7 separate regions of the Homo sapiens genome follow, and regions 2, 3, 4, 5, 6 and 7 are each linked to region 1. The links are contacts of gene promoters, found by promoter capture Hi-C in blood cells and fetal thymus (Javierre and others, 2016). All regions are on one chromosome and are shown on one strand. The core of a region is centred on a gene start or on the middle of the fragment in contact, and the rest is flanking DNA. Distances in the headings are between cores, read along the strand shown. Region 1 holds the start of BDH2 (3-hydroxybutyrate dehydrogenase 2). Region 2 has its middle 41 kb from the start of SLC39A8. Region 3 overlaps NFKB1 (nuclear factor kappa B subunit 1). Region 4 overlaps NFKB1 (nuclear factor kappa B subunit 1). Region 5 overlaps NFKB1-AS1 (NFKB1 antisense RNA 1). Region 6 overlaps NFKB1-AS1 (NFKB1 antisense RNA 1). Region 7 has its middle 69 kb from the start of SLC39A8.

What was found. Contacts are between HindIII fragments. The CHiCAGO score rates a contact against its expected background, and 5 or more counts as called.
Region 2: a contact is called between a fragment that was not itself captured here and the fragment with the promoter of BDH2 in region 1, in 2 of 17 cell types (monocytes and total CD4 T cells). The highest score is 7.6, in monocytes.
Region 3: a contact is called between a fragment that was not itself captured here and the fragment with the promoter of BDH2 in region 1, in 6 of 17 cell types (total CD8 T cells, naive CD4 T cells, total B cells and 3 more). The highest score is 6.7, in total CD8 T cells.
Region 4: a fragment that was not itself captured here is called in contact with the fragment with the promoter of BDH2 in region 1 in 4 of 17 cell types (total CD4 T cells, naive CD4 T cells, non-activated CD4 T cells and 1 more); the score reaches 5.9 in total CD4 T cells.
Region 5: a contact is called between a fragment that was not itself captured here and the fragment with the promoter of BDH2 in region 1, in 2 of 17 cell types (naive CD8 T cells and non-activated CD4 T cells). The highest score is 7.7, in naive CD8 T cells.
Region 6: a fragment that was not itself captured here is called in contact with the fragment with the promoter of BDH2 in region 1 in 5 of 17 cell types (naive B cells, total B cells, naive CD4 T cells and 2 more); the score reaches 8.2 in naive B cells.
Region 7: a contact is called between a fragment that was not itself captured here and the fragment with the promoter of BDH2 in region 1, in 8 of 17 cell types (non-activated CD4 T cells, total CD4 T cells, fetal thymus and 5 more). The highest score is 8.4, in non-activated CD4 T cells.

The regions. Positions count from the first base shown.
Region 1 is chr4:103,098,509-103,102,410 of GRCh38, forward strand. BDH2 (3-hydroxybutyrate dehydrogenase 2) reads right to left here and starts at 1,326. Exons shown (of 10, transcript NM_020139.4): 1 at 1,275-1,326. The HindIII fragment of the contact is 3,413 bases long and covers 443-3,855 here.
Region 2 is chr4:102,384,974-102,388,646 of GRCh38, forward strand. No RefSeq gene overlaps it. Among named protein-coding and RNA genes, the nearest start is that of SLC39A8, 41 kb to the left of the region's middle. The HindIII fragment of the contact is 4,429 bases long and covers 1-3,673 here.
Region 3 is chr4:102,532,058-102,535,555 of GRCh38, forward strand. NFKB1 (nuclear factor kappa B subunit 1) reads left to right here. Exons shown (of 24, transcript NM_003998.4): 4 at 1,788-1,828. Among named protein-coding and RNA genes, the nearest start is that of NFKB1-AS1, 31 kb to the left of the region's middle. The HindIII fragment of the contact is 1,939 bases long and covers 853-2,791 here.
Region 4 is chr4:102,515,441-102,518,852 of GRCh38, forward strand. All of the region lies in intron 1 of NFKB1 (nuclear factor kappa B subunit 1), which reads left to right. Among named protein-coding and RNA genes, the nearest start is that of NFKB1-AS1, 15 kb to the left of the region's middle. The HindIII fragment of the contact is 5,636 bases long and covers 1-3,412 here.
Region 5 is chr4:102,491,898-102,495,674 of GRCh38, forward strand. All of the region lies in intron 1 of NFKB1-AS1 (NFKB1 antisense RNA 1), which reads right to left. Among named protein-coding and RNA genes, the nearest start is that of NFKB1, 7.6 kb to the right of the region's middle. The HindIII fragment of the contact is 691 bases long and covers 2,065-2,755 here.
Region 6 is chr4:102,460,642-102,464,213 of GRCh38, forward strand. The region is part of intron 1 of NFKB1-AS1 (NFKB1 antisense RNA 1); the gene reads right to left. It also overlaps the pseudogene LOC100419863. Among named protein-coding and RNA genes, the nearest start is that of NFKB1, 39 kb to the right of the region's middle. RefSeq lists enhancers at 2,882-3,382, 3,383-3,572. The HindIII fragment of the contact is 3,110 bases long and covers 1-2,808 here.
Region 7 is chr4:102,412,258-102,415,779 of GRCh38, forward strand. No RefSeq gene overlaps it. Among named protein-coding and RNA genes, the nearest start is that of SLC39A8, 69 kb to the left of the region's middle. The HindIII fragment of the contact is 4,802 bases long and covers 1-3,522 here.

The DNA.
Region 1 (3,902 bases), core at 76-2,575:
GTTTGTGCTGAGGCCACCTTCTCGGGGCCGTTACAAGCCAGTGCCTGAGCATGCATGCTTACTAAGGCAGACTCATTTCTGGGAGACATAGACCTCCTCCCCAACGGATGACTGGCTAGAGAAGCTCCTTATTACCTTGCTGAAGTTCTCTTAGACTGCACAGCTGTCTGGGATGCTTCCACTCAACCTGGTTTCCTTCTTTTCCTCCCTCGCGGGTGGACTTGCATCGAGGTCTGATGGCTCTCACAGCCTTACCTAGTTCTCTCCTCATTCTCTCTCACAACAGCATTTCCCCTAATAAAATCCATGCATATTTAATTCTATCTTGGAGTCTGCTTCTTGGAGGAGCAGACTAACACAATTATGTAAGAACTGGCTCCAGGGATCAGCTTATAATCACTGACTTCCTCTGAGTTTGTCCACATTTTTTAGGCGATGGGGAAGCTTGGCTTTAACAGTGCCTGACCTACTTTGATGCAATGAATTTTTGCTTTTTTACTTCTTACACAAAAGATAAACATGGAATGTTTATCATTTCAACATGGAATGACAGTTTCTAAAGTATAACTTTAGAAAGATATACTTTATCCTCCTTGAATCCTAAGCATGGTGCACAAAAGCTATTTTACAACACTGTCATTAGTGATATTGGGTGTATGGCCCTGTAAAGCCTCCAGTCAAAGGTTTTGCTAGGAATCTTTGCCAACCGAAGAAGCACTTCCAGAACAAATGCCGAAGCACAGAGCAGCCTTTCTATGCACTCTGAAAACCTCCTCTTAGCTGGCCTTCCTGTCTTTCTGGGACCAGATTTTGGGGTCAAAGCCTTAACATTTGATAAACTGTAATCTCAAACTAAAACAGATTTCTTTGAGAAAATGAGAGCAAACACGGCCTGAAATGGTAAAACAAGGCACCTCTCAATATATCCAATGTGAAAACCATACATGTTGGCTTCCTTAGTCCAAAAGTTAGAATCAAAATGTTGATTTTTGATTAGCAGAGACACAAACAGCATATTCAGGAAGCCATTGTTTTCAAGAGCCAGGAAGAAAACTCTTCACTTAGGATACCGTAAGAATCCTTTTTTCTTGGGCTACTTTATAAAACATACATACCACAGAGTTTCAGGCTCTTTAAAAACCCATCTTTACACTGATCTAACTGCTCAGATTAATTTTGAAACAGGCAACGTGCAGAAAAAAACAACATCTAAAAATTAAACCTCCCCTCTTTCCGTTCTAAAGTTTCATTTCAAAAGTATTAGGAAATCTTACTTTAAGCAGCGAGCTGATGGCGTTCTCCAGAACTCGGTTTGAGCAACAAACTTGAGACAACCTTTGTCTGGAAGCAAGTCAAGCGCTTAATAATGCATGCTGGGATTTGTAGTTTCCCTGCTTTCAGAGTTTAGTGGCTCCATCCATACACTTTATAAATGTATGTGCTGCCATCTAGTGGAATTCAGGTAGAACTATGAATTCCAAGTGGAAGGTGAAAAGTGGAAAAGCACCTTAGAGCTTACTTAGGATGCGGAAATCATTTCCTTCACTTCAGTCTCTCCACTTCTCTGTTTTGTTTATGCCTACTATATGCGGTGCCAGGGTAGACGAGATTGGCTGAGCTGGAAACTGCGTGTGGAAGATAGCAGAGCAACAAAATAGAGGGAACCCAGGTCACTGAAAATTCTGGAGCCTTCCTGTCACTTGGCCTGGATTGTTTTAAGGGAGAGAAATAAAAAAAAAAATCCTTTTTGTTTGAGATACAGTTGTGATTTTTATTTTTTCATGCTCAGAATATTCTAACACTAATGCACATTTAGTGGCAGAATGCCAGGAGCCTTTTACTACACTGGGAATGGGGTTGGGGAGAACGTGAAACTTGGATGACAGGGTGGAGGCTTAAAAGGGAACATGTTAACAGCGAAAAACCCCAGTTTGGCTGAAGAGAACAGAGATATAAGGTCAAAAAGAAAGGACTAGATCTCATGAGCCCTCTAGGTTAGGATAGCAACATGTGCTTTATCTGTAGTGCCAGTGAGCAGAGTGATTGTGTAGGCTACTTGTACATGTACTGTATAAATTGGTTTCCTCAGCACCCATCCAACTCACTTTCCCCTTTTTTCACTTGTCAAAGCTGGAAAACAAAAGTCTCTACTTCATAGCCTTGTTTGCTGCTAGGGGTGGCCAAGCAGCATAGATGTTGCCAATGAAATGCAGGTGGGAATTTCTGAGGAGGGCCTCCTTCTTAAATAGAAAAGTAAGCCCTTCTGAAAGGCTTTTAGCTTTTGCTCCTCCCTTTCTTTTTGCCTGGAATGAAGATAGGATGCCGTGGGACAGAGCAGCCATTTAGTGAGTTCATCTGAGGCCAGAGGCACACATTAACGACAGGGACCAGCAAGAGAAGGAGCCTGCGGCCCTGATGACAGCCTCAAGGCAACAACTCCTCTGGACTTCTTATGTGAGGACAATAAACTTTAGTGTTTTTCACGTTTTTTGTTACATGGAGCTAAGTGATTTCTAACAGTCACAGGGGATAAGAACAAAGACTGTGGCGTCAGTAAGACTAGAGCAAGTCCCATATCTCTCTCTCACTAGCTAAGTGAGTAAATCACTTAAATCTCTGAACCTCTTATGTTTCTCATCTGTAAAATGAAGGTAAAATAGCACCTACCTCAGGGATGTGGTGAGGAGGAACGACTAAGCCTGTGAATCCATCAGCACAATGTTTGCCACACAGGTGCTTAATACATGTTAGTGATTCTTATGATGAAGACATTGTTGGAGAAATTTAATTATAATGGATGGTAAAAGTTGCGCTTTTTAATGTTCTTTTAAAAACTGGACTTAGTTTCTGCATGTGTCTATATGAGGTCTATGGTAAAATTGTCCCTCCTTGTTCATTGTTTCAGCAACTTCTAATGCTGGCTCTAACAATCTGTAATCACATCTAGCTTTGTTCCTGCTTTACTAATAATGCCCTTTGACTTTTGAGGCTTTTGGAACAGACTTTATGAGAGTTCTCTAATCAAAGCCAACTCCAATGCTTCTTGATGTAGCTTTCTTCAGCATCCCTCTGTAATCTTCAGCAACAATGCTTACTTGATAACAGCCTAAGTCACATGGTATTGCAAATACTTGCTTACCCATTAGTATTCTCAGCAGACTAAATTTCTTCAAGGGTGGGGACTATGTTTTACACCTTTACATTGTGATTAGCTCGTATTAAAAGAGTATTAGTTACTTGTTTTCTTATCTACAATATGAGTTCCACATTGGTAGTGCCTTTCAGTGCCTAAAACAGTAATTGGCAGATAGTAGATGCTCATTAAATATTTGCTGAGTGAATGGCAGTTTCTTAATAAGTTTCCTGAATATAATTCTGCCAGGCTCTCAAGACAATGTTTGTGATAATTAATTTTAGGTGTCAACTTGACTGGATTTACGGATCCCCAGAGAGCTGGTAAGCATTATTTCTGGGACATCTCTGAGTGTTTCTGGAAGAGATCGGCATTGGAATCAGTGAACTGGGTAAGGATCTACTTCACCCAATGTGGGCAGGCACTATCCAATTGGCTGAGGGCCCAGATAAAACAAAAAGGCAGAGAAAAGGTGAATTCTCTCTCTTCCGGAACTGGGACATCCATCTTCTCCTGCCCTTGGATACCTGAACTCCGACCAGATTCTCAGGCCTTCAGACTTGGACTGAGCCACGCTCCTAGTTTCCCTGGCTCTCCAGCTTGCAGACAGCCTATGGTGGGACTTCTCAGCCTCCCTAATTGTGTAAACCAATTCCCCTAATAAACATCCTCTCTCTCTCTCTCTGCATATATATATATATATATTTTTTTTTTTTTCCTCAAGCTTCAGTGGGGTTACATCCCAATAAGCCCATTGTAAATTGAAAAC
Region 2 (3,673 bases), core at 496-2,995, 710 kb before region 1:
GCTGAAAAAGTCAGGACCCTTCAGCCTTGTTTTCCAAAGGATGGAGAGTCAGTTTCCCAAAGTCAGCCCTTCTGGGCCCTCAGAGCAGTTGGCTGGTTGCATGCTTCCTATTGTTGTTCTTCATCATTTATCATGGGTGTGGAGTCATGTGAAATGTGCAAATGCTAACTCAATGTAGACAGCGAATTAGTCTTCCACAGTGACCATTTGATATGCTTATTTCCTTGAAATTCTTATACCTGTTCCTATGACACAGAACTATGAGCATATGTTCACAGACCAGATTCTCCTAGTAATACCTTTAGAGTATGGTTCACTGAGAAATCAATGACATGATAATGGAGTTCTGTCAGAGGAGGCAGGTGATGTTACTCACCAGAAATCCCAAATAGGTACTCACTGCTCCTCAACAAGTAAAGGCTCAGAACTTCCAGATCCAGTACTGTGGTCCACTGCCTCTTCTACAGATGCTCTTCTCTGCCCCAGGCCCACAGTATCTCAAGGTTACTGTGGCTTAGATAGCATTTACCTTTATATCTGAAAGAGAGTAGAGAATGAGGGGACATTTGTGTTGAGGTCCAGGAATCAGACCCATCTGGGTGTTATGGGTTATTTTATGATTACTGGAAACAAAAAAGATTTCCTTGGCACACAATATTCAGGGGGAATTCCTGATTCCTCCATCCAGCTAAATTCTCTTTCCATCGAACTAAAGCAAGTGGGGACTCCTGGAATAATGCAAGGCTTTGATGGCAAAGTCCCTGAACACGGGGAGGGGAGTCACACACATCCCTCTCTTCCTCTCAATTTCAGGACAAGGAAGGATAAGTCCACATTCTTCCTATCAAACTCTCACTAGAGATTAGAAATAGAGACTTTGAACTGTGCCTTGGGCATCTCCTCAGGCACTGGAGCAGATGTAGCTCTGAGAAGAAAACAGCATGGCCGCATCCTTTTATCCAGCTCCTGCTCTATAAATTGGCAAAGGGAACTCATCTTTTATTCTAGTTCTATATAATTTACTCCAAATTAAGGAGGAATTCTTAATTATAAATGTTAAGCAGAAGTTGCAAATATGTAAGTTTAATGCCTCTGTTTAAGAGAGGCATTAATAAGAGAAGATTGATCTTTCTTCTAAGGGTACTGGTCTTTCAAGAGAAAAGTAATCTTACACAATTGATAGAAGAGGTTAGTGCTATGATAAAATTTAATACATCCATTGTGCACCATTGAAATTATTTGACTTCACTCACTGACTGCTGTTTCTGCTAAATTGATATCTTAGATCTAAGAGTGATTTGCCATATTCTAGATAGGACTAAGCGGCCTGGTGCAAAATAACCCTGAAGTGTTCACGACTGACCCCTCAGCCCAGACAAAATCATGGAGATGCAGACCACACACCAAATTGAAGCTGAAAACGTGAGATACCTGGGATTATCACAGCCATCCAGAGAGCATCCTTCTCCATACACATAAATTAAGGCATGTGCCCTATGCCCTTTCTCCAATATGATTTTCCTCTAATCCTTGGAACCACTAGAAGAACACTAACTGCCTGACTCTCCTATTCTCCTGACAATACCACAGATGAATTAGGAACCCATTTTCCTAATTCTCTGTGTGTTGGTTTGTTTGGACAGTTACTCTAGTGAAATCGAGTCTTCACAACAAAAGATAGAGGACCCAGACTAAGCAACTTGCCTAAACCTGAGGACTAGAGTCACTTTTATCATGGCTCATTGACATGATACATTGACATATAACGCTCTCCTGAGACAGTTACACTCCCACCTTCTCCCTCTATTCCTATTCCTGGTTATTCCAAACCTCTCCTTCTCCTGTTCTTCACCTTCCAGATGTACTGGTTAGCATCTTCTCCTCATGGCTGAGAAACAATGGCTTACTATCCTGTTTGCCAATCCTTGTTCCACCTTCCTTCAAGTCTTTCTTCCTCATTCAGAGAATGAATATTATTGCTTCTCAGTTTTTTGGCTAAGATTAAGTGAGAATGAATGAGTGAATATTAATTTTATCTTGTGATTAAGTGAGAATGAATGAGTGAATATTAATTTTGTCTTGTACTTATTGTAGTAACTTCTATATAAAATTTTAAAGAGGACAACATTTCTGTCTCAACACCGTCTTGCCTTTCGCAACCTTTCAGACAAACATCTCAGGCTTCCATATTTTCCCTATTGTCTGCTCTAACGTAACATGATTTCCAGGAAAGATAATAAATTGCTCACTGTAAGGTAAAAGGTTGCAAAGTTTATGCCTTTCCAAAGAGATTTGCTTTAACACAGGACCAAAATTTCAATTTCCAATTCTGGAAATGCAAAATCAGTAAGAAATCTTGGAGAAGGACAATTTTCTGGTATCCTTTAAATTATACCCCTACAAACATTGTGTTCAAATAACAACTCACTCATGGTTCATAAAATCATTTTCATGGATTAATATCAGTTTATTTTTTAATAGAATGGAAGGAAACAAATATCAATGTACATCAATTAGAGTAAGCGTAAACTTTTTTTTAGAATTTTCATTTCCGTTTTTTATAAATGTACAACATATATATGTATATGTAATTATAAGCAAAATATATAAATGCATTTCTTGTTATGATCATCATCAAAAAGTTTGAAAGTTACCTGCCCCTCACCCCTAGATCATGTTACCAAATGCTTTTGATTCCTCTTGTGCAACTTCACTAACATGCATCCCTGCTTTTCCATCCCCATCACTGTCCACATAGGTCAGATTATTCATTTCCGTTCTGAAGTTCTACAATAATCACAAAGCCTACATAACTGCTGTCTCTTACATTTTTCTGGGTGTTTACAGTCTCTAAGTCAAATTATTTCCTAATTCAAACTCTGAAATCTGTGCAAGACAAAAATCTGAATTCCTGTGCCTAGCCCTCAACCATCTGGCCCATTTTTACCTTGCCAAACCTTATCTCCTGCAGTTACCCAACTTGCCTCCAGGCATTCTTCTCTTTTCTGCACCAGATCTCTGCTCAAACCATCCTCCTCCCACTCTTTAGCTTGAAATGGCTCCCTTGCCTCATCTTCACGGCATCTTATCAGTCCCTGAATCCTTCAAGTCTCAGCCCCCTTCCCATGTCCTTCATCCCCCAGTGAATGCATTCACTGACCACCCCATACTTCTGAGAAAGCCTTAAATCTTATTATTTTTAACCTTTTCACTGGTGCACATTATTGGTGTACTCATATTTTCTGTTACTTTCTACATTCTTATCTTACCTTTCCAAGGAGATTTTAAGTTCCTTAAAAGAAAATATATCTTAAGTTTTTCTAGCTTGTTGCACTTAGAGCAAAGGTCCTCCATAAAAATGTTTTGATTGATTTTTCCTACTGTACACATGATGCTAAGGTCACTGTGACCCAATAGTTGAAAAATTGGCCATTAATTTTAAAAATACATACTATTGTGCTTATTTTTTATTTTCCATCTTATTTCGTTTTCTAAACTAATAGTTATTATCCTTAAATCACTTCTGAGCAATTAATTTTAACTTTTTAACCAACTGTACTACTACTACTAATAATAATAATACTCATTTTTCTTTCTTCAACCCTCTCTGCAGGAAGTTTTAATGTGAAAAATAATTTAAGTCATTAAAACAATAAATACTCTGAATTGAGGT
Region 3 (3,498 bases), core at 572-3,071, 570 kb before region 1:
TCTAGCCATTTGGTGGGGGAATTTTTAAATTATGATTATGTTTCTAAAAGTAATTTAAAATGTCCAGGGGTGAATTTCATACAGACAAAAGATGGTAATTTAATACATTGACCAGTGACTCCCCCTTTTTTTTCTTGTGTATGCTTCATTTCAGATGCATTCATTTTTCAACTCGCTTCCTTGTAAATTTCTTGAATAATAACAGGAAGTAATTATACCCTTGTTTTCTCCAGTTCTCTAGCCTTATCCTGATTTATCATAATATTGAAAAGATAAAAATAAATTCTCTGGCCGGGTGAGGTGGCTCACGCCTGTAATCCCAGCACTTTGGGAGGCCAAGGCAGGTAGATCACGAGCTCAGGAGTTCAAGACCAGCCTGGCCAAGATGGTGAAACCCCGTCTCTACTAAAAAAATACAAAAATTAGCTGGGCATGGTGGTAGGCGCCTGTAATTCCAGCTCCTCTGGAGGCTGAGGCAGAGAATTGCTTGAACCCAGGAAGCAGAGATTGTGGTGAGCCGAGATTGTGCCATGGCACTCCAGCCTGGGTGACAGAGTGAGACTCTGTCTCAAAAAAAAATAAAAAAAATTTTGAGAAAATTCTCTTTTGTGTTATAGTTTATTTTTAATTTCAACCTGAAGGTTTATCTCCTTACAAATTTATTTAAAATAAGAGGTCTTGAGCTTCTTTCTGAGAGAAAATGAAGATTAAAATGGACATACAAGCATTCTCCTAAAATATTTTTAGCACCAAACATCTTAATTTACATTCAAATAAATGAGAACCACCATATGCCTTTATTTATTGCAAAGCTATGGATTATTGTACTATTGACATAAAAATCAGCTGGGAAGCTTAAGGACTTTTTCATATTGAACAGTTTGTACTTATGTTGTCAGAGATTCTGATTTTCCTTTGAATTTTCAAGTCAGATACCATTAGGGTATGGATTAAGCCTCTAGTTTTCTTTGCGTTTTTACAATAACTAATTTGCATGTACCTATCTTCAATTAAATTATTTTCAGTATTTTATAAAATGCCTGAGATGTTTTAGAACACAGTTTATATGATAGCACAATATTCAAAATTGCTTATAAACATCAAAAGTTATGGATTAATATGAAAATTTTACCATGTCTGATAGACCAGATTACATTGGGAGTGTCGGGGAGGAAAGGGGAAACAAACTAACCAGTTAAGGAATGAAGGCAGTACTTTCCCTTCAAGTAAAGACGGGAACAGAAAACCTAGTGTAAGGAAAAAGAGATAGCCTGAGATCATTATCTGTCTATCAGACGTATACATACAGGTTGCTAGATCAGTATCTTTTAATTTCACATTAAGCACACTCTCTTTGAGGAAGGAAAGTCAGTGTCTAATGATGTGAAGGCCAAAGAAAATGTCATAGTGCCCAGAAGTGGTTGCTGCTTTTAATTGGTATTTGTCATTTTAAAATGCTTTGTTAGGAGACAAGATTATGAAGGCTGTTGACATCAATTCTTGCCGGCCATATGCCTTTTATTGGGTTAGGAAATGTGCCATCACCTTTCAACAAACATTTACTTATTGTGGTTCGCTAAACTCGTAAAACTATTGTTAAAATAAGGGTTAATTTAATATTTCAGACAAGGAAGAGAAATTATATCCTTGTGGAATTTTAACCAAAAATTGATTTGAAATTTCTACATAAAAACATAATTTCAGTTTTTTACTTGCTTTACGTTTTATACCAAATTTGAGAAGCCTCACAGTTTCTTTTGGTTTCTGTTTGTTGTTTTTGTTTTTAGCAGATGGCCCATACCTTCAAATATTAGAGCAACCTAAACAGGTAAGATTAAAGGGGTGGGACTTTAAATGTTAGATTCCAGTGTCTAATATTGAGATCATAAGCACTGAAGAATAGTAAATGAGTTCTATGAAGGAAGTAGTTTATCTGAAAGATCAACAACCTGACAAATTATGTAACAGCTTTATTCATTCACTTTACATTTCTCTTACTCATTGTTCACACTGTCCTGAGCCTCAGTATGTAGTTCTGTAAAACTGCAGTTAATTACAGTATTAGAATTACAGTTAATTACAGTATTCTGCTGTCTCTACCAGCTTAACTTACCAGCCACTCCCAGGAAAGGCAGAGGTGATTTCCATTCATTTTCATTTATAAGGAAATACGTATGCATACAGTTCACATGCACTGAGCGATATCCATCTATTATCCTTGCACATGTAGTACCTCTTAGCCTTCCTCCTTCCTTTGGTAGCCCCAGCCTTTTCTGTGCTGCCTTTGGAACATGTAACCTAACATACTGAAAGTACCAGTGGGAAGTAAAATGTTAGAATGAACTATTGAATTCTCTTCCCTCTGGTGTCAGCCTCTTTGGAGTCAGGAGAGGAACATTTTTTCAGGTGCTTCCCCTTACCACTAGAGTCTGTAGAGAATAGCTCAGAACTGAAATGGCCTCCTCACTGTATCCAACTCTGTGGATATTTATAGGAAATTGGATGGGACCAATGCTGTGAAAGAGAAAGAAAGGCAATCTTTAATGTCTGCCTATAGGAGGTTTCAGTTATTAGGGAATGGAAATAATGGTGTAGTTCCCCACAGAATGAGGACAGTCAGTAAATCTTTGGATGGATAAACTAATCACATTTGTGTGTGACTGAGGATATGGATACCTGTCCTCTTGCAGCTGTATTACCCAATACATTTTCTAAGTATTCTTTTCATTAGCTCAGGTGAGTGAAACACTTTTGCATTTTGTAACATTTAACACATGCTAACTAGGTCACAAGCTTAAATAAAGCATCCACTGCGTTGTGGTTTCCAGAATCGTGACATTATATATGTGTTATATTTGGTCAGCATTTGATATAAATGTCTTAATGATTGCTGAACAGGCTATCCTTATAAGGTTGAAATTAGATGAAAGTTTTTGCTGTGGGGGCAAGAATGCCACATGAAACTTTGGGGCATGGTTCTAGTTCTTGCAGGTGTCACATCCTGACTCCTCAGGTTGCCAGTAACACTCCATTGCTCTACCTCCATGTTCAACTCTTTTAAGCAGTTATTTCTCAGAGAAGGTCATCAATTCCCAGTGAAATTTTATCCCTTAAAGTTCTGTGGGCTCTGGCATCCTGGAAAATTTCCCAGCTTTTAAGATCTAGGTAGTCTATGAAACAGAAATCAACTGAAATTTGTCTGCATATGCCAAAGTATTTTTTCCAATATCATTTTCATAAGCATAGCACTACAATAAGAATTTTTAAATGTAATTCCTTATTATGGATCCAACAGTTATAAGGAAAAATTGGCATTTATGATTTACCTGAAGGGTTAATGTAGTTCCAAAATTCAAAATTTAATTCATATAAAAGCTTATGTGAGTAAAACAATGTGTTTACCAAAGTGATGCTATTTTGATATCTGAATTCAGTGAAAGTAAGAAGGTTGTATTCAAGTCAGACTTTCTGACTGAATGGATGTAGCCTTGCCTTTGA
Region 4 (3,412 bases), core at 888-3,387, 580 kb before region 1:
TAAGTCTCTCATCTTGGTAATTAATTATCTATTTGTGCTATCTCTTCTTTATTCTTTTTTTTCTCCTTTCCTGCCATCCTTTGAATAAATCAAGTTTAGTGTTTTAAATTCCATTTTATCTCCTTCATTGGTTACTTTCTAAAGTGGTTACTTTACCACTTTAGAAAAGTATTTGTTTATTACAATATGCATCTTTGAGTCTCTAATTAATGTGAGAACTTGACAATGTTATACTTCTGTTTGTCCTTCTGTGCTGTTATTGTTATACATTTTACTTCTTTATATGTTATAAACTCCAAAATATATTGTCTTGTTTTGCTGTGAACAGTCAATCGTCTGTTTAGGAAATTAAGAAAGAAGAAATAAAAGTCTTCTGCTTACTCACATATTTATCATTATTGATGCTTTTTATTCTTTCATACAGGTCCAAGTGTCTATCATTTCCCTTCAGCATGAAGAACTTCTTTTTAGCATGTCTTTTAGCAGGTCTGCTGGTGATGAATACTCTTAGCTCTTGTTTACTTGAAAATGTCAATTTCACCTTTATTTTTAAAAGATTTATTTGCTGAATATTCTGGACCAATCTTTTTTTTTCTTTTATCACTGTAAAGGTGCCTTTACATTGCCTTCTAGCTTGTACTGTATCTAATGATCATCAGAAACATCATGCTTATCATGCTTATCAATTGTTCCCCCATATATAATATGTCCTTTCTTGTCCTTTGCTATTTTGGGATTTTTTTTTTCTCTAGCATTAGTTTTTAACAGTTTGGCTGTAATATGCCTAACCATGGTTTTATTTGTCTTTATCCAGCAGAGAGATCTTTGAGATTCTTGGATCTGTGGGTTGATTTTTTAAAAATCAAATTTATAAAAATTCTCAACTGTTATTTTTTTGAATATTTTTTCTGTCTTTTTTCTGTTTCTGGGATTCTATGTTACAAATACGTAAGACTGCTTAATATTGTCCTGTAGGTCACTGAAGCTGTGTTCACTTCTTTCTACCTTTTTTTCTCTGTAATTCAGTTTGGGTAGTTTTTATTGACCTTTCTTCTAGTTTATTGGTACTTTCTTCTATAATGTTAAATATGCTAAGTCCATCTAGTGAAATTTCATTTCAGTTCTAAAATTTCCATTCTTTTTTTTAAAAGAAAGGTATGCATTTCTTTGCTGATATTGCCTATCTGTTCTCTCATTATGTTCATCTTTTCCTTTACATTATTGACCATATGCTATTAGCTATTTTTGTCATTTGTGTCATTTTTTTTCTCAGTCTTATTTTCCTATTTCTTTGCAGGCTTCATTATGTTTTATTGTACATTGTGGAGAGTTTGGGTTTTTTGTCTTCCTTTAAAACGTGTTGAGCTTTGTTGTAACAGGCAGTGAATTTACTGGTGGATCACCTAGTTTTATTAAGATAGGTTTAGAGTAGCCCTTATTTTAGGATGTTTCTAACTCCCATCGTGTGGTCTTTCTGAAATCACAACTGAATGCTCACAATGTTCAGTGATGTCTTTCCACCCTGGATTATTACAAATTCAGTGTCTCTCAGCACTATATGATGTCCGGAATTTCCATTTAGCTCTTAGATGCCCAGAAACTGTTTTCTATTAGGTTTTGCAGGGTCTTGTCCTACACTATCACAGCTTGGTATTTGGCCAGTGACCAGAGATGACCCCTATGTAGATTTCTGAGGCTCTTGCTTTTTGTGTAAAGCCTTTCTTTGTGATATTCTGCCCATTGGTGTTCTCTCTTTGGGCTCTCCCTGTGTCATGATTTGGAAAGTGTCCTCAGTCAAAAAGTGAGGGCGAATTTAGAATTTACCTAAATCACCTTATAATATATAGCCCTATGAAGTCCAATGTCTTAAATTACATCTTTAGGTATTTTGTATGGTTTCACAGTTGAGTATAGCAAGGAGGGAGGTTCAGATAACTGTTAATCTGTGATAACTAAAACCAGAATTTGACATTCTGACAAACTTGAAATTGCAGTGCTTCTTAAAATTAATACAGTATTACTTAAAAAACAAAAACAAAAAAACCAGTGTTTTCCAATTTGCCAATACAAAAAAGCAAAACTCCCATCTCTACTTTTTAGGAACTTCTATCCATTTGAGAAGATGATAAATATATAGGTAAAGTTAGATTGCAGTAAAACTATGCTGTCTAGTGTTAAATCACCAGTATATATAAGTTTTATAGATATTATGTGACTACAGAGCTATAGGTTATAGGAAAAATATAGGATTTCTTGGCAGAAATTGGATTTAACTAGAGCCTTGAAGAGTGGATGCTATTGAGGTAGAAAAGATGGCATTTCAGGATGCAGGGCATATTGTGAACAAATGTACAAGATGGAAATGAGCAAGTCATTCTGAATGATTAATCTGTCTATCATAGAGGGTTTTGATTAGGACATAGTAGTAGTTGATGCTTATAATATGATTTAATATAATAATGTAATGTGCTGAGTGGTTGAAGTCTTTGGACTTTATCTTATAAGTAATATGGCAATAATGTGAAAGATTCTTGAAGAGGAAGAAACCCTGCAGTGAGGGAGAACAGTACAGAGCCTATTACTGTCATTCAGAGGTGAAGCAATAAAGGTCTCTCCTAGGATGTTGGAAAGAAGGGGCAGATCCAAGAAACAACATGAAGAAAATAATCAGCAGAAATTGGTTATTGACTAGATATGTGTGAAAATGATATATTGGCAGAAATTGCAAAGTCAAAAATGGGGCTCATTGCAGCAGGAATGATGAAATTGCTTTTAGATAGAGAGGTGAAGGGATTTAAAACATTAACTTGTTTTAAAGGTATCACTGCTTAAAGCTAACAGTGATTTATTAATATTTGCACTCTGAAAGTTTTAACAGTTTTAATTTTATGTATACACCACAGTGTTTTGGCTACTATACTTGCCTCTTTTGTTCAGTTGGGAATTGAGTAAACTAATAGAGTAAAAAAATGAGTACAAAGTGGGCTTTGACTAGAACTCTAACAAAGTGTGATCACTGAATTACCAAGATAATTAACCCATACCCCACATATACTCCATTTCCCATGACACATATTATATTGCATTGTTTTTGCCTATTTGCCTTCCTACTTCCTAAACTGTTGAATTAGTTTGCTTTTGTTGCATTAAAAAAAAGGAGAATCACCACAAAGCAAATTAAAAGATACTGATTACTTCTTCCAATTCTGTGGGCTGCCTAGTTCATCTGGCCTGGCCTGCTTTGGCTAATCTCTGAGGTCTTTTGGCTACTTGACTGGTACTGTTTGTAGCTACTCAGCTGGTGCCCTACTGCTGTTTGTCTGAAGTTGTTTTGGCTACTCAGCTGGTGCTAGGGAGCCTCAGCTAGGACTGCCTGTCTGTGCTCCACATGGTCTTTGATTTTCCAGTGGCT
Region 5 (3,777 bases), core at 1,160-3,659, 610 kb before region 1:
ATTATACTTCATCAAATTTAAAATCTTCTCTGCAAAAGAGGATGAAAAGACAAGTCACAGGCTAAAAAATATGTATTTGCAAATCATATATCTGGTAAAATACTTTTATCCAGAATATAAAATGAACTCTCAAAATTCAATAATAAGAAAAAAAATACACCAAAAGTAAACAAAACATTTGAACATGCATTTCACCAAATGGCAAATAAGCACATAAACAGATGCCCATCATCATTAGTCATTAGGGTAAAGCAAAGTAAAGCACAATGAGATACCACTAAACATATCAATTGAGACGATTAAAATAAAAAAGACTGACCATACCAAGGATTGCAAATATATGAAGGAGCTAGAACTCTCATTTCCTGTAGTGGGAATATAAAATAATATACTCTTTGGGAGAACAGTCTGCAGTTTCTTAAAAAGTTACATGTATGCTAACTATACGCTCTAGCCATTTCACTTGTAGGTATTTCCCATGACAAAAGAAAGTATATGTCTATATAAACAGTTAAATAGTTACACACAAATGTTTTAGTGGTTTTATTAATATATCCCAAAACTGGAAACAACCTAAATGTCTATGAACAGGAAAATGGATAAATAAATTGTGACTATCTATACAATGGAATGCTACTCAACAATAAAAAGGAATTAACTACTGATACAACAAGGTGGATGAATTTTAAGATAATCATGCTCAATGAAAGAAGTCAGATAAAAAATAGTACCTACTGTATGATTCCATTTATATGAAACTCTAGAAAATGCAAACTAATCTATGACAGAAAGCAAATCAGTGGTTGCTTAGGAATGTGGAGGAGTGAGGAATGGAAATGAGGAACTGCAGAGGGCCATGAGAAAACTTTTCAGCTGATGCACATGGTCACTGTCTTTATTATGGTGATGGTCTCATGGGTATATATATATATCAAAAACAACTCTCTCTCTCTCTCTCTCTCCAATCCCCCAACCCCATCTCTTACAACAAGAAAGTATGTCCCTAGTATATCTGGAAGCCATCTTTTGACCAAGAGAAAAGCCAGCATGAGGAAACTGTTAACACAGGGACAGAAGAAAAGAAAATGTCTCTGAAGGGAAGAGAGCCAGAATTGTGATTACATTAAACCTAAAGATTTTCAACGATGTGACCTGATGAAATTCCATAATGGTTAAGTCATTTTGAGTCATAATTTTACATCTTTTCACCTTAGGTGAAAAGCATCCTAACCAAGATAAGTATATGCTCAGCATTATATTGATAATTTATAATACGCCATTGGAAAAAAACTCTCTTCCTGGCATTTAATTATATTACTTATTTCAAAGAAAATGCAGTAAAAAACTGATCTGTATATCTACTGATATGTCTATCAGTAAAACAGATAAGTATATCTATGTATACCTACTATGCATAAGCCTTACAGGTGCTACATAGAGGTGATATCTGTTGTTTATACTCTTTGTCTTCCCTTCTTCCTTTTTTTGATAACAGTGCCCCAATTTACGCTTAGCTAACCATAATCTAGCATTACTAATTCATGTCTTCCAGATGAGATAGACCCTCCTTGTCACTAAAAGTAGACATGTGACTCACAGCATTGTAAGAAGATAGTAATGGAACACAGGTCCCCAAATTTACCCTCCCAATCTCTTCTCAATTACTTTCCCCAACAAGAAAAAATGCTACTGCAGGTAAGCAGGGGCATCTAAAGCAGGGTCACTTGAGGTCACAGGCTCCAGGGTCTCTAAAAGGAAAGAGATACTCTCACTCTTCTCTGTTTTAGGTAGTCTGGAGGGCCTTGTTATAGAAAGACTTAAAACAAAGGTCTCAATTTTATGGCTTCCAGTGAAAGTTAGCCTGAGGAAACCTATGAATGCCTTCAGGAAAGCATTACATGGGCTTATTTGTGTGTGTTCTTGGGAAGGTCAGACTAATCTGGGTAGTGACAGGTCATATGGAGGAACGCTGCACTCATGGAAGAGTTGCTTGTAGCCCCTGAGGTTAGGCAAGCATTCTCCCTTGCACCCAGGGAGCTCTGGGAGAAGAAAGACTTTTTTTAAAGCTTCAGCTGGGTGTGGACAGATTGCCAGTTGGTTTACTGCCAGCCCACAAAAGCAGAAACCTTTCCCCTGGCAGGTTTGCCACTGCATAAAAGACCCTAACTACTTGTCCTGTAATTATAGGTCAGTGTATACAGAGCCTGAGGTCTGAACAGGAAATGGAAAATAATAACTTGCCCTAGTAGTACTAGCAAGCCAGAGAGGAAAACTAAGATAAACACTTCAAACAGGTGTTTTGTTGAAATAGAACTGTTAGAAGAGCCAGGTGAAAACTTTTCTAAAAAGTAATAAATTCACTCAAGAAGATATAATTAAAGATTAGGAGTTAAATATATGATAGATGCTAGAATGATAAAATATACATATTTTAAAAATAGGTAATGACTCCATGTGTTTCTGACAGTATACCCTTCCTGGTTGAAATAACTAAAATGAAATAACTAATGGAAATAACTGAAATGCTACATAACATATTTTTAAAAATTAATACTGCTTAGCCGGCATGAAATTCAGGAATCTAAATATTTCCAAAACTGAAAAACTGGAGGGAATAGCTGAGAAATTGACTTAGTCTGTTTTGTGTTGCTATCACAGAAAACCACAGACTGGGTAATTTATAATGAAAAGAAATTTGTATCTCACAGTTCTGGAGGCTGGGAAGTCCAATATCAAGGTGCCAGCATCTTGTGAAAGCTTTCTTGCTACATCATCCCATAGTGAAAGGCAGAAGAGCAAAAGAGCAGACACTCAAGAGAGAAAGTAACCTACTCCTACAATAATGGCATTCATCCATTTATGGGGGTAGAGACCTCATGACCCAATCAGCTCTCAAAGGTCTCACCTCTCAACACTGTTGAATGGGGAGTTAAGTCCCAACACAGGAACTTTGGGGGACATGTTCAAACGATAACACTGCCTATCTAGTCCTTGTCACTGGACAGAAAAAGAAGAAATTCTCACCTGTGAATTCATAACCACTTACACTATATGTGATGATCAAAAGCACACAAGTAAAAAATTTTATTTAAGGTTTTTCCAAGTTAATAGTATACCAGATAACAGGCAAAAAGAAGCACAAATATTCCTTACTCAATTTTAACCTAAGCTTCAAATAATTTCCAGAGATTGTTTCAAGAAACGTAAGCAATTTATTATTTATAATTCAGTTGACATATTAAACAGCATATGAAATATAGCTGAAAAGAGAATTGATAAACTAGAAGGCAAATATAAAGAAATTATCCAGAATGAAATCCAAAGAGATAAGAGATATTAAAAGACACAGAGATTAGATTGAGAAGATCTAACATATACCTAATTTAAATTCCAGAAAACAAGTCTAGGGAAAATGAAAGAGAGGAAATGTTACAAAAGATAATGGACTAGGAATGTAACTGTTGAAACATCAAATCTTGAGACCCAGGGAGCCATATAACATGCTTCCAAAATCCAAGCTTATTATATTAATATACAAAAACATTAATATTAATATTATATATTAATGTTATTGTTAATATAATCATTATATTATTAAACATATAATTTATACATAAACAATATATTATATATAAATGTATATGATATATAATATACAATAGTTATAATATATAATAAATTATATATTGACTTCTATATAATATAGAATTATATAACTTATAAATTATATATAGCTTTATATATAAATCAATAATTATATATTGATGTGTACAATTA
Region 6 (3,572 bases), core at 4-2,503, 640 kb before region 1:
ATAATCAAAAAATAATAGATGTTGGCATGGATGTGGTGAAAAGGGAAGACTTTTACACTGTTGATTGGAATATAAACTGGTACAACCACTGTGGAAAACAGTGTGGAGATTCCCTAAAGAACTAAAAGTAGATCTACCACTTGATCCAGCAATCCCACTACTAGGTATTTACCCAGAGGAAAATAAGTCATTATACAAAAAAGATACTTGCACACACATGTTTATAGCAGTGCAATTTGCAATTGCAAAAATGTGGAACCAGCCCAAATGCCCATCAATCAACGAGTGGATAAAGAAAATTTAATATATGAATTCTGGCTAGGAGGCTTCTCGTTCTGCTCAAATTGTTACAAAGTTCAGCTAGAGAAGACCTTCCCGTGAAGTTTTACCCCCTGCTCCTCTGGCCATCCTCCTGATGGATGCCTGTGGTGCCAGGCAGGAATGGGCTACTTGGGGATCCAGCGAGCTCCCCGTGCCTTTCTGCTACTTCCTCTACCTCTGTATTTCACTCAGCTCAGCTGTCTAACTTGACTCAGCTCTTTCTTAGTGCCTGAAACATCTAAAAGGGAAAATCCAGAAGAAGACAGAGAGAAACTGAGCTCTTGACAATGCATTCACTAAAGAAAGTGACCTTTGAAGATGTAGCTATTGACTTCGCCCAGAAGAGTGGAGCTTTCTCTTGATGGACATATCCAAGAGAAAGCTGTACAGAGATGTGATGCTGGAAAACATCAGTCACCTGGTGTCCCTCGGGCATCAGATAAGCAAATCCTATATAATTTTGTAGCTGGAACAAAGAAAAGAGCTATGGAGGGAAGGAAGAGAATTTCTTCAAGGCCAGAGTCCAGACAGGGAAACTGCCCTTAAGAAAAAACACATGATATCCATGCATCCTATCATCAGAAAAGACTCATCCACCAGTTTGACAATGGAGAAATCTCTCATTCCAGAGGATCCCTTTGAACATAATGATTTGGGAGAAGATTGCACTCACAGTTCCACAATGACTCCATGTTTGTTAACTCACAGTGGAAAGAAACCCTACATCAGCAAACAGTGTGGAAAATCCTTTAGTAATCAGTTGTCCCCTAAACAACATAAATTCATACTAAAGGTAAGTCATATCAACGTAATCTATGTGAAAAGGCTTATACTAATCGCTTTCACCTTAGGCAGCACAAGTTGACTCACACTGGAGAGAGACCATATGCATGTCATCTATGTGCAAAAGCCTTCATTCAGTGTTCTCACCTTAGAAGACATGAGAAAACTCACATGGGAGAGAGACCACATAAGTGTCATCAGTGTGGGAAAGCCTATATTCAATCCTTAAACCTTCAAAGACATTAGAGAACTTACCTTGGAAAGAGATGTTATGAATGTGATAAAGGTGGGAAAGCCTTTAGTCAGAGCTCTGGCTTTAGAGAGCATAAAAAAAATCACACTGGAGAGAAACTACATGTATGTCTTCTATGTGGGAAAGCCTTCAGTCTATCTTCTGACCTTAGATGACATGAGAGAACATGCACTGGAGAAAAGCCATTTGAATGCCATTTATGTGTGAAAGACTTCAGTCAATGTACTAATCTTAAATAGCATGAGAAAATTCACCCTAGAGAGAAAATTATAAACATCTTCAGAACATATTCTGACTTTAGATGACATGGTGTTAGGAATGACGAATGTAAGGAATGTGGAAGAGACTTCAGCTATAGTTGTAACATCTAAACATGCCAAAGGACTCAAATCTTGAGGAAATACTGTAATCAACATGGAGTATACTTCGGTTACGTTTATTCTTCAGTCCACATCAATGAATGGAAGAGAAATTGTATGGCATGTATGTAGCAAAGACTTGTTAGTGATCTGATCATAAACGACATGAGAGAGCTGAAACTGTCAACATAATAAACTAAAAGTCTTAAGCAACAGCTTTGACTTAAAACATGTGGGACTTTCAGGTAGAGAATCTCTAGCTCTATATGTATACATGGAATCTCTATATAGAGAGTCTCTAGCTCTATATGTATATATGTAACATATATACATATATGTTACATATATACATATATTGTTGGAAAAAAGAAAATGTGTATATATATGTGTTATATATAACGTATATATATTTCAATATTTGTAAGTATTATTTTATAATTATTTTGTAAGTATTATTTTTGCATTATTTCAATATTTGTAAGTATTGATCTTTTGGAAAAGTTTAATGAAATTTCTTATATAATTCTGCATTCAATTTATTCCCAGGTCAATTTGCTATTATACATTTACATGCCACATTTTTATGAATAGACATTTTCTCAAATTTCTGAATTATTTTGCTAAACTATGTGCTAAGAGTTTTTTCTAGAGGTCCACCTTCTTGACTCACTTTTCTGATGAGAAATCTATCAGGTTTCTCTACAGTGATTTTCAGGTTTGATAGCTCCTCAATGTGAGAAACTTAATGTCAACTAAGAAATGAATTACCACTGAAGAGTTTTCTCATTTCAAGATGCTGACTGTGTTTTGTCCAGTGTGAAATTTGACATGTGCCACAAGTGTTGCTCTATGAAGAAAGGATTTCTCATGATTTTTCATTGCATAATTTCTCCAGTAATAAGTATTTGGTATTTCAAGAGAATTCATTGCTCTCGGTAAGATTTTCCTTTCTTATTTAGCTTATAAAGGCTTTCCTCTCTTATTTTCCATTTTAGCAACATTTTATCACTGTGTTTTCTTGTGAACATCAAAACTGGTGCTTGGCTGAATGTTTAGTCACAGAAAATACAAATAAAGGGTTCATCCAAGTAAAGCTTTCTTATGTTATTTGACAATAAATTGCAAATAAAAAACATTTTCACACTGAATGCAGAGCTAGAGATTCTCTACCTGAAAGTCCCACATGTTTTAAGTCAAAGCTGTTGCTTAAGACTTTTAGTTTATTATGTTGACAGTTTCAGCTCTCTCATGTCAATTATGATCAGATCACTAACAAGTCTTTGCTACATACATGCCTTACAATTTCTCTTCCATTCATTGATGTGGACTGAAGAATAAAGGTAACTGAAGTATATTCCATGTTGACTACAGTATTTCCTCAAGATGTGAGGAGATACATATACATATATATATACATGTATACACATATATATACATGTATACATATATACGTAGTATATAATCACTGATTATATACATACGCGTATACATGTATATACACACATGTATATACATACGCGTATACATGTATATACACACATGTATATACATACGCGTATACATGTATATACACACATGTATATACATACGCGTATACATGTATATACACACATGTATATACATACGCGTATACATGTATATACACACATGTATATACATACGCGTATACATGTATATACACACATGTATATACATACGCGTATACATGTATATACACACATGTATATACATACGCGTATACATGTATATACACACATGTATATACATACGCGTATACATGTATATACACACATGTATATACATACGCGTATACATGTATATACACACATGTATATACATACGCGTATACATGTATA
Region 7 (3,522 bases), core at 236-2,735, 690 kb before region 1:
TTATGCTCGCTGGACACAGTGGCTCATGCCTGTAATCCCAGCACATTGGGAGGCTGAGGAGGGAGGATTGCTTAAGTCCAGGAGTTAGACACCAGACAGGGCACTATAGTGAGAACATTTCTCTACAAAAAATTAGCCAAGTTAGTGGTGCATGCCTGTAGTCCCAGCTATTCAGGAGGCTGAGGTGAAAGGATCACTTGAGCCTGGGAGGCAGAGGTTGCCATGAGCCAAGATCAGGCCACTGCACTCCAGCCTGGGCAACAGATTGAGACTCTGTCTCAAAAACAAAATACAGAAACATTATGCTAAGTGCAGTATGCTGGATGTAGAAGACTACATAATGAATAATTCAATTTATATGAAATTATTTTAAAGACACAACTATAGTGACAGAAAACAAATCAGCAGATGTTGGGGCCGGGGGCAGGAGGAGGGGATAGACTGCAAGGTGACATAGGAACATTTTTGCAGAGTAATGTTCTAGATTACAATTGTAGTGCTTATATGACTATATAAGTCTGTCAAAAGCCATTGAATTGTACATACTCTTAAAAATTGGTAAAATTTATCATATATATTGCATTGTATTATGCCTTAATAAAGCTGACTTTTAAAAATGAATGAGTCCAATTTTGCTATATATACACAGGGCATAGGAAAGGCAGGAAGAGGTTTCTGGAGGAGACTGCAGATAGAGACAACCAAAGACAGGGAAACATAAAACAACATCAGGGAGAAGAAGGGGTTATAAGTGGTTCATTATTTCTGGAGCCGAAGTGAAAGAGTGAGGAGGACTGAGACCAGAATTAGATTATGGAAGACTTTATGGCCATTCTCATCTTCCTGTAAAAAGTGTAGCTTTGGCCTTCAACAGGAAACAGCAAAAAGAGAAAAACACACTCTCCTAATCGATGACAATATGAGATGCTCTTGAGGTAGCTTAAGTCAGATATTTACCTGGAATAAATAAATATAATTATTTACATTGTAAAATCTAAAGTGCTAGCAAGATTATTTCTCAGCAATGATGTTGGCTCCCAAGAGCACTCCAGAAAATATTCTATTTTGAATTAGAGGCAAATTCACTCTACCAAAATTTAGCAATGTCCTGACTATACACTAGCCCCACAAAGTGGTCATTTGCCCCCTAGCCAAGCCAAATTAAAAGTTTGTGACACTTTTACAACTAAATAATTTGAAAAAGTGAATTATCCATGATTAGTAGAAAAAAATGAAAATAGTGTTTTACCTAAGCATGAGAGAATAGGACAAAATAAGAAAAGTAGATTAGGACATAAAAAGAAGCTAAAATGAATAATTTTGTAAGAAAATAACCTGCCTCAACCACAGCTTTTGTCAAAGGGCTTCCCTCAGTTAATCGATATCTGAGTCTACCTATCTTGAGAGAAAGTGGCTCTTTTGCCCTCTATTACAAGAGCTGACCCAAAGAGACTCAGGGTCAGGGCTTGTCCTATACTCTGGGCCAGGTCACAATAACCAACCCTCACCCCAATACACACACACACACACACACACACACACTTTTTTGGTGTACATACCTTGCCCATGTGCTTCACCAGACATGCCTCCTGCTTCCTCCTCTAGCTCCAGAAAGCCTGTGTGTAAGCTCTGGCATCTGTCTCCTCACAGGAAAGAAAACCACTTGAAAGACATTATAGGAGCCTCATTTTACTTTCTGGGAAATTAATATAAAAGATCCATAGGTTTTAGAGATAGACTCCAATTTGGAGATGGATGCAGTAATAAAAACAACAAAAGATCACACAAATGTCACTTGTCTTCACAGTTAATACTTCCTCCTCTCCCTCTCCTCCCTTCCACTCTCTCTGTCTCTCTCTCCCTCCCTGCCCCCTCCTCTTTTGCTTGCATAGCTCCTTCACTTTATACCCATGCAGATAGAGTTGCCCAAATCAGCAAAGCAACTGTATCTGAAGTATCATGGGATAGATCTACCTCCATGTCAATATGCAGATTGTCTTGTCTTACCCTTCACACTGGAAGAATGATGATGATATTAATATTAGTAATTATAACAATAATATTTCCACTCATTAAACAACTACAACTCACCAGGCAGTCAACATTGCTAGTCCTTATAATCACCTGCAGAGCAGATGCTGCAATTATCTTTTTACAGATGAAGCACTGAGACTCATAGAGATAAAATAAGGTGCCCAAGGTCCAGTAAGGTGATAGTTGCAGAATGAAGATTGAAACGTTGATCAGTCTAACTCCAAATCTTATACTTTTTCCATAAAACACTGATGAAAAGTAAGGTGAGAAGGAAGGAAAGAACAAGAAGTCTGTTCTGTGTCCAGACATATTCAGGACCACATAGCTCCAAAGTTAGAGAAGCAAGTGCTGATGAACAAGACTTCAGAAAAATATCTATGTTCTATTCATATTCCACCAGTATTAAACCTGGCCACTGGAGAAGACAGTGTGGCGATTCCTCAAGGATCTAGAACTAGAAATACCATATGACCCAGCCATCCCATTACTGGATATATACCCAAAGGATTATAAATCATGCTGCTATAAAGACACATGCACGCATATGTTTATTGTGGCACTATTCACAATAGCAAAGACTTGGAACCGACCCAAATGTCCATCAATGATAGACTGGATTAAGAAAATGTGACACATACACACTATGCAGCCATAAAAAAGGATGAGTTCACGTCCTTTGTAGGGACATGGGTGAAGCTGGAAACCATCATTTTTAGCAAACTATCACAAGGACAAAAAAACAAACACCGCACGTTCTCACTCACAGGTGGGAATTGAACCATGAGAACACTTGGACACAGGAAGGGGAACATCACACACTGGGGCCTGTCATGGGGTGGGGGGAGGGGGAGGGATAGCATTAGGAGATATAACTAATGTAAATGACGAGTTAATGGGTGCAGCACACCAACATGGTTCATGTATACATATGTTAACAAACCTGCACGTTGTGCACATGTACCATAGAACTTAAAATACAATAAATAAATTTTAAAAAGAAAAAATAAAAGAAAAAATCTTATCCAGTAAAAAAATAATAATAAAATAAAAATAAAATAAAAAAATAAACCTGGCCACTGGGGGAGTAAAGACTTCACCCATTGTATTAGTCTATTCTCTTGCTGCTATGAAGAAATACCCAAGACTGGGTAATTTATAAAGAAAAGAGGTTTAATTGACTCACAGTTCCACATGGCTGGGGAGGCCTCAGGAAACTTACAATCATGGCAGAAGGCACCTCTTCACAGGGTGGTAGGAGACAGAATGAGTGTCAAATGAAGGGGAAAGCTCCTTATAAAACCATCAGATCTCATGAGAACTCACTCACTATCACAAGAACGGCATGGGGGAAACTGACCCCGTGATTCAATTTTCTCCCCCTGGTCGTGCCTTTGACATGTGGGGATTATCAAAATTCAAGGTGAGATTTGGGTGGGGACACAGAGCCAAACCATATCACCCATCCACCAGTCAACAATTATGATAAGG